Regions from separate parts of the Homo sapiens genome. Here regions 1 and 3 are each linked to region 2. Evidence: promoter capture Hi-C in 16 types of primary human blood cells and fetal thymus (Javierre and others, 2016). All regions are on one chromosome and are shown on one strand. The core of a region is centred on a gene start or on the middle of the fragment in contact, and the rest is flanking DNA. Distances in the headings are between cores, read along the strand shown. Region 1 holds the start of GSTM4 (glutathione S-transferase mu 4). Region 2 holds the start of CFAP276 (cilia and flagella associated protein 276). Region 3 holds the start of EEIG2 (EEIG family member 2).

Region 1 (2,500 bases), core at 1-2,500, 540 kb after region 2:
CAGGCACCGCTTCTCTCTCCTACACTCAACCCCTCTCCCACTCCACTGCCTCTCAGTGTGCAAAAACAGTAAGAAGTGTCCCGTATTTTCAAAATCTCTCCCCTGTAGTTCCCACCTGACTTCTAGTCGTAGGTGGCCAAAGTACAGTGTTTTTGAAGGATTGTTTTATTCCCAGTGCCTGGAATATGGTAGGATCTCAACAACTGTTGTTTCAATAAAGGAATGACCAAATGGGTGAATACTAATGTAACAATATCAATTCTGTTTCTTTCATAATTATTCTCATAAGTGTTAGCTTTCTTAAAAAATCATCTTCACAATTGGACCTAGACATTTTATCTTTCCCAGCTCAAGATGGATAAACTCAGAATGACAGGCCAGGCACCGTGGCTCATGCCTGTAATCCCAGCACTTTGGGAGGCGGAGGCGGGTGGATCACTTGAGACCAGGAGTTCAAGACCAGTCTGGTCAACACGGTGAAATCCCATCTCTACAGAAAATACAAAAAAGTTAGCAGGGCGTCGTGGCGCTCGTCTGTAATCCCAGCTGCTCGGGAGGCTGAGGCAGGAGAATCGCTTGAGCCCGGGAGGCGGAGGTTGCAATGAACCGAGATCGCCCTACTGCACTCCAGCCTGGGCAACACAGCGAGTCCCCGTTCCAAAAAAAAAAAAAAAAAAAAGACTCAGAATGACACATTCTTAATGTCTTAATGTATAATGAGAAGTATAACTATTCAGAAGTCCAAGCACTTGTGTGTGCATGGTGCTATCGTCTTGCTGTAGGCAAACCTACATGGGAATCCACCTTGACACATAGGCCACTTCCTGAGCCTGGACCCAGTCTCAGAGCTGGGGAACTGGCCCAATGCAAAAGGGTCGGGAGCATCTGCAACAGAGACTGAGCTCTATCAGCTTCGGTGACATAGCCTCCATTCACGCTCCCCAACTCAGCAGAGAGAGCACACCATCAGACTTCTAAGACTTAGTAGCCAAGAAGTGTTGAATTAAACTCTCTGAGACCTCTCTTTAGTCTGACCCTGGCAGCCTCAGTCTCCCAGAGCCTGTGGGAACTCGGCAGCCGAGAGGCAGAAGGCTGGGCGACGTCCGGAGAAGAAGAAACGGGGGAAGAACTTTTCTCTTACGATCTGGCTTTACTCTCACGCGCACAGCCGAGTCCCTGGGGACCCAGCAGAGGTCCGAAGCGGAGCGGGGCGGGGCGGGGCTACGGAAGCTGGCGAGGCCGAGCCCCTCCTAGTGCTTCCGGACCTTGCTCCCTGAACACTCGGAGGTGGCGGTGGATCTTACTCCTTCCAGCCAGTGAGGATCCAGCAACCTGCTCCGTGCCTCCCGCGCCTGTTGGTTGGAAGTGACGACCTTGAAGATCGGCCGGTTGGAAGTGACGACCTTGAAGATCGGCGGGCGCAGCGGGGCCGAGGGGGCGGGTCTGGCGCTAGGTCCAGCCCCTGCGTGCCGGGAACCCCAGAGGAGGTCGCAGTTCAGCCCAGCTGAGGCCTGTCTGCAGAATCGACACCAACCAGCATCATGTCCATGACACTGGGGTACTGGGACATCCGCGGGGTGAGTGAGGGTCCGCTGCACTGTGGGACCGGGCGCGTGGGCGGGAAGTGCCGAGCGGCTGGGGACCGGCTCTAGGGACGGTTCCCTCCTTAGGGCTATCTCTCACAGGAGGGCCTGTGCATGCCTGTGTGTGTGTGTGTGTGTGTGTGTGTGTGTGTGTGTGTGCGTGCGCCGGGGTGGGGGGGGGGTGCAGTGCAGTGTAGACTAGGGGCTCACCTGGTGCAGAGAAAGTCACCAAGTCAGGGACCCTCCATCTCTGACACGACCTGCGGGCCATCTCTTCCAGCTGGCCCACGCCATCCGCCTGCTCCTGGAATACACAGACTCAAGCTACGAGGAAAAGAAGTATACGATGGGGGACGGTAATGACACCCTTGTGTCCGGGCTCTGCCCACTCACGCTGAGTTGGCACCAAGCAACCCATGGTGGCCACCTGTGGCTACCTCTGCAGGCCTCCCCTGCTGGAGCTGCAGGCTGTCCCTTCCCTGAGCCCCGGTGAGGGAGTCCTGTGGCCTTGCAAGGCAGAATGCTGGGGCGGGATGCTGGGCCCCCTGTTTAATTGGGTTGGGTGTCCCTCAGAGCTTCCCTAAACCCTGGAAGCCTTAGCCGTGTGGGGTCCAGAGCCCTCAGCGGGATTCTTTGTCCCTGAACCCTGGGATGTGGGACTGAGTGGTCAGATTCTAGATCCACCTGTCTCAGGGATCTTGCCACTGGTTCCTTGGGAGGGTCCCCGGGAAGGAGGGCTGGGCTCTGGGGAGGTTTGTTTTCACTTCTTCTTCCCCACGGCAGCTCCTGACTATGACAGAAGCCAGTGGCTGAATGAAAAATTCAAGCTGGGCCTGGACTTTCCCAATGTAGGTGCAGGGGAAGGGGCGGTTTTGGGGGAAAGTGCGACGTGTCTCTGACTGCATCTCCTCTCCCCA
Region 2 (2,700 bases), core at 86-2,585:
GTAAGCCAAGATTGCACCAGTGCACTCCAGCTGGGGTGACAGAGCAAGGAGACCCTGTCTCAAAAAAAAAAAAATATCCCACAATGATTCCTCACATCCCTAGGATGAAACCATAGCTAGCTAGCATGGTGTACACAGCACACCCAGCCAACCAAGGGCATCTCTCCAGCTCTGATTTCTGAGTGCTTCCATTGCACGCCTACACTCCAGCCCTTCTAGACTATTTGCAGTTCCCCAAATAAGCCATTCTCTCTCTCCTTTCCATGTATTTGCACCTGCTGCTTCCTTTGCCTTGCATATCTGGTTCCTGTTTCCTTCTTCCTAACTCACATTCTATCCACTCCCTCACCTGGCCTACCTAACTCATATTTGGACATCAAAATGCATCTGCTCTGTGAAGCTTTCCTTTAAGTTCCTGGTTCTCACGGCACCCTGCACACAACTCTGTCACAACATGTGCTATTGTGCAAGCATTTTTGCTATTGTCGGTCTCTCTTTACTACTAGAGTTCCTTGACAGCAGAAGCTACATCTAATTTATTTATATATCCTTGGCGTTTAGCAGAGTGTCTGGCTTATAGTAAATAAGTATTGAATAAATAAAAAGGGGCTCTCAATATTGTTATTAGACCACAATCACCACTTAATTCATCTTATTGTGCACCACTTCATATATCCCAATCACTTCTACCAGAAAAAAGATCATCTAAGTTCCGAAATCAGTGTCCACCATCATGCTAAACACACACATAACAAACATATTGTGGTGTTAACCAGAAGACAGAGACAGTGTGAACACAGATGTGTAAAGCATGACCTCTGGTGGCTTTCAGAGGATTCTCTCCCACTCCATATCTCATTTCTCTTCAGAGAACAGTCTTCCAAATAGGGAAATGGGTAGCTTGAAGGAACCTGGGCACTGCCATAACTTATACTCACAATTGATTTGAGCTGCCAGAGCCCCTTGTTCCTCTAGACTAGAACTCTACTTTCCTCTGCTCAAAAACGCCTCTGAAACGTTAGCCGACTTGAATATGGAGATAGGGAGGCAGGCAGAAAACAGACTTCCCTGGTACCCGACTGAGTGTCTTCACCAGAGTCCTTTATGTTACCATCTCTGCTCATCACACAGACAGAAAGAAGACTACCGGCGACCCTACTGGGAATCTGCGCAAGAAACCACAGTACCTTGGAAGCCCGCAGTTCTCCTAAGTAGGAATCATCGTTATCTAATGTAGGCTGCTGGAAAGGGTCCCGGGTGGGAGGCATGGCTAAATGCCTAACTCTTTTAAGAGGGATGGGAGGCCCGCTCAGCCGCAGCACAGCCTCACTGGCATAAGATCCCGGGTCCCAATTGTTTGGAGCGCTGGTTTCGGTTGCCAGGCAACTGCCCAGCCATCTATGACAGAGGAATTCCCTCAGAGGAGGGCGCCACCTGGCGGCTGACCACGGGAGGCCCCTGGGGAGGAAGCTCCGGGGACTGCAGAGGGAACGTTCCGCTGAGCGGGCCCGAGACTTGGAATTGCACTCCTGAGCCTCGGCGGAAAAGTGCTGGCTGCTCACCATCAGGACTTCTGCAAAAGACTTCAGTTGAGGAAAGAAGTCCTGAAAGATGACCCAGAAATTTCCTTCTCCCTCGCACCTAACAAAAGGCTTTCAAAGCCATGAGAGAATGAGGATGTCAAGAGACCAAAGAGGGCCGGGCGCGGTGGTTCACGCCTGTAATCTCAGCACTTTGGGAAGCGGAGGCGGGCGGATCGCTTAAGCCCAAGAGTTCGAGACCAGTCTGGGCAACATGGCGAAACCCCGTCTCTACAAAAAGTAGGAAAAAAATTAGCTGGGCTTGGTGGCACGCGCCCGTAGTCCCAGCTACTCGGGAGGCTAATCCAGGAGAATCTCTTGAACCCGGAAGGCGGAGGTTGCAGTTAGCCGAGATCGCGCCACTGCACTCCAGTGTGGGCGAGAGAGTGAGACCCTGTCTCAGAGAGAGAGAGAGAGAGAGAGAAAGAGAGAGAGAGAGAGAGAGAGAGAGAGAGAGAGAGAGAGAGAGAGAGAGAGGCCCACGTGCGGCGCTTGGGAAATTGCGGCTAAGGCAAACTCCTCGCTTAAACTCGGATCAACTACAGTGTCAGGGCTTCTCTTCTAGCCGGTTGTAAAAGCACGGATGGATTTGGCGGGATGTAAGATCTCCAGGAGTGGCCTTCGTAGGAGGGAACACGTACTGGGGCCTCTTCCAGGCGACGACGTCTGGAGGGTGATCTCTCCATCTTCTTTCTCTCGGTTCACACGCCACGTGTGCAACATCGGAGATGCTCATAAAATAACCCCTGGCCCGAAAGGGCAGTAGAAAACGGAAATTTGTTGGCTGGCTTGGAGGATGCTTCCACTGTGTTCTTCACACGAGCCCCGGGCCTGCCTGTTGGGCCGGTTGCGCACCCCGGGCGCGCGCTCTCCCGCGCCCACGCCGCGCGCACCAGCGGCGGCGGCTGCCATGGCGACCCGCAGGTGAGCTGCAGAGGCGCGCGTGGTCCCTGCCCCACCCGCGCGGAGCCAGAGAGGAGGCGGTTGTCAAGGCGACGTGGGTAGGAGGAGAGGACAGAGGGAGGAGGAAGGATGGGCGGTGTTGGCGTAGCCGCAGGGAGGTGACTGAAGCGAGCCTGGCCTCTTGCATCCTCCGCCTGTGTACCTCCCTCCCCTTTTT
Region 3 (2,700 bases), core at 159-2,658, 550 kb before region 2:
ACAAATCTCAAAGTCCCCAAATGCATCTCACTGTCTTTGCCCCCTGTCCTGCAGGGTAAGAAGCTTTATCCATTACCAAATCCCCACCCCCGAACCTGCCTCTGAATCTTTTTTTTTTTTTAATTTATTTCTCCTAGAACAACTTACCCCACTTTGTCCCAAATCATTTTCATCCTTTGAAATTCAGAAAACTGATTAACTTCAATTAATTGCTTCTCTGAGTTCTACATAGCTTGGTGCTAGGTTGTGTTTTTTTAATGACCTGTCTAAACATGTCTTCCTCACTAGATTGTAAAATTCTTGAGGGCAGTTATTGGCTTTTGGTTATGGGGTCTAGCCGATGATTGACATTTTAAGCAATTTTTTTATATGAATGAATGAGTAAACGAGTAAACTGAGAAAGAAAATATTTTCAATTAAACCCTTTCAGAATTACTGTGGCAGAATCTGAGTGAAAATGACAATAACTCAGTTTAAAAACATGAACATCACGTAACCAACTTTGTAACATTCATTGTAACAATACATGCATGATTACAGAAGGCAGGTAATTGTTATTCCCCTAGGGAGATTTTTTTTTAAGCCTGCTCTGAAGATTTTGTTTTGTTTTTAAGACAGGGGCTTGTTCTGTTGCCCAGGCTAGAGTGCAGTGGCGCGATCTCCGATCATTGCAAGCTCCGCTTCCCCGGCTCAGGCTAACCTCCCTCCTCAGCCTCCCGAGTAGCTGGGATTACAGCGTAGCCATGCCAGACTGCCTGCAGAATTTGATTTTAAGCATTTCAGTTCTCAGTATAGACAGACAAATTTTTAAAGGGAGGGTATTATTTTAACTGCTTCTTTGCTCTTTTATCTTTTGTCCTGGGTGACAGGAACTAGATAAGCTATACCCCAGAGAAAGCGCCTGCAGCAGTACGGTGCCTGGGCCCTTGATAGTCCCTCAGCACATCATTTTCCTTTTTCCTACCTTATCTTCCTTTTATATTTGAAGGCTCGTGAATTTAGAGTACCTAACGGAAATTTTAGTTTTAGGATTTCAATTTGACCAAAACAACGCTGAGATTTTAATTGCCTCTATTAACCCATGGCTCTCAAACCCAAAGGAAAGAAACCACTGGAGGGGGTGGGGGAGAAAGGAGGCGGTGCAAAAACTGAAAAGAAAGGCGGAGAGGAAGCGGTAGAAGGAAGCTTTCTCTGTCGGGTTTGTCTTTTTTTAACCCCAGAAAGGCGTGACGTGCTAACTGCCGTCGCGGGTTAGAGTCCGCGGCCAAGCCCGCGCCCGCCCACAAAGTCCCCGCCCTCCCTCCGGCTTCCGCCCCGCCGTGCGCTGCAGGCCGCGGCCGCTGGGGGCGCCCCCGACCCCCGAGGCGCTGAGGCGGCGGTTCCTCGAGCCTCGCCTCTCCCGACTCCCAGACGGGCGGCAGCGGCGGCGGAGGCGGCGGCGGCGGCGGCGGCGAGCTGAGCACCAAAAGGGCGCTCACCTCCCCGGGCGAGCTGCAGCACGACCGCTCCCCGCGGGCGGTCGGGGTCCGCGCCGCAGCTGCCGCCGCGTTCCGGCCCAGGCTGCCGCGAGAGGCGGCGGCAGCGGCCCCGGCCGCGGCCGGCCTGCGGCGCCCCCCGGCCGCGCCCCCGCGCACAGCTCGCGGCCCCGGCCATGGGGCTGGGCTGATCCGGGGCTCGGCCAAGCTGAGGCGGCGGCGCCCGGCCGTGCGCCCAGCTTGCAGGCGCCTGGCTCTCACGATGATGAAGAAGAAGAAGTTTAAGTTTAAGGTGGACTTCGAGCTCGAGGAGCTCTCCTCAGTGCCCTTCGTCAATGGGGTCCTCTTCTGCAAGATGCGGCTGCTGGACGGCGGCAGCTTCACCGCCGAGTCCTCCAGGTAACTCGCCTCCCGCGCCGCCTCGCCCCTTTCTGCTTGGCCAGGGCTTGTTGGATGGGCAGCATCTCTCCTTGGCCCATTTGCTCGCCTTTCCCTAGGGACCGCTCTAAAATCAGTCGAATTTATTGATCTGCAAAGTGCTTTGCAAATGGGTTCTTCTCAGCTGGCCTTGGTTCCTGCGCTCCTGACTCCAGATGGTGCCTGGTATCTGCTCTTCCCTCCCAAATCCTCTAGGAATGGGAGCAATGGCCAGAGAGGGAGGATGCTTCTGTTTTCTCTTAAGACATTTCCATATTTGTGAAATGCAAAGTAGAACTTGAGCTGTTAAAAACTAAAATAACCCAAACTGCAGGAGTTCCAAGAGCCCAGCTCTGAACAGAAACCTGTGCTTAGCACAATTCCTTCTCCCTTGTAGATTACAAGGGGACTTGGCCACCCACTCTGAGGCTGGGGTAGGCCTGGCCAGGCTTGACTTGAGTCAAGTGCTCCTGGCAGACGAGACAACGGTCTGTGCCTCATCAGAGAGCGGCGTCTCCAGTTAGGCGCTAATGCTGGATGAATTAGTCTTGAAGTGGCCACTAGTAGGTCTCCTTGTGGGAGGGCTTAGAGCCAGATGGGGAGCCCAGGCCCTGCCCTCATTTTAAAATGAGCCCCTGGGCACTCCCAGAGAGAGGCATTAGCAGGTTACAGAATGAAGCTATTAAATAATAGGTGTGGCATTAATAATAGGTGTGGCAGTGTTTCTTGAGTAATTTCAGAGCTACTCACAGGTTGACAGATGTACCCTAAGGTGCTTTCTTTAAAATATATACATAGAGAGAGAAAA

What was found. The method cuts DNA at HindIII sites, captures the fragments that hold promoters and counts their contacts. A CHiCAGO score of 5 or more calls a contact.
Region 1: a contact is called between the fragment with the promoter of GSTM4 here and the fragment with the promoter of CFAP276 in region 2, in 3 of 17 cell types (monocytes, M2 macrophages and neutrophils). The highest score is 6.3, in monocytes.
Region 3: the fragment with the promoter of EEIG2 here is called in contact with the fragment with the promoter of CFAP276 in region 2 in 7 of 17 cell types (naive CD8 T cells, naive CD4 T cells, activated CD4 T cells and 4 more); the score reaches 9.4 in naive CD8 T cells.

What each region holds. Positions count from the first base shown.
Region 1 is chr1:109,654,849-109,657,348 of GRCh38, forward strand. GSTM4 (glutathione S-transferase mu 4) reads left to right here and starts at 1,251. Exons shown (of 8, transcript NM_000850.5): 1 at 1,251-1,577; 2 at 1,864-1,939; 3 at 2,367-2,431. The coding sequence starts at 1,542. RefSeq lists enhancers at 969-1,018, 1,892-2,477. The HindIII fragment of the contact is 5,301 bases long and covers 1-2,500 here.
Region 2 is chr1:109,111,412-109,114,111 of GRCh38, forward strand. CFAP276 (cilia and flagella associated protein 276) reads right to left here and starts at 1,336. Exons shown (of 5, transcript NM_001245025.3): 1 at 1,188-1,336. The coding sequence starts at 1,268. RefSeq lists a silencer at 2,456-2,525. The HindIII fragment of the contact is 3,574 bases long and covers 399-2,700 here.
Region 3 is chr1:108,558,692-108,561,391 of GRCh38, forward strand. It overlaps EEIG2 (EEIG family member 2), which reads left to right and starts at 1,409. Exons shown (of 11, transcript NM_001010883.3): 1 at 1,409-1,874. The coding sequence starts at 1,738. RefSeq lists a silencer at 1,070-1,609 and enhancers at 2,000-2,099, 2,563-2,612. The HindIII fragment of the contact is 6,399 bases long and covers 1,184-2,700 here.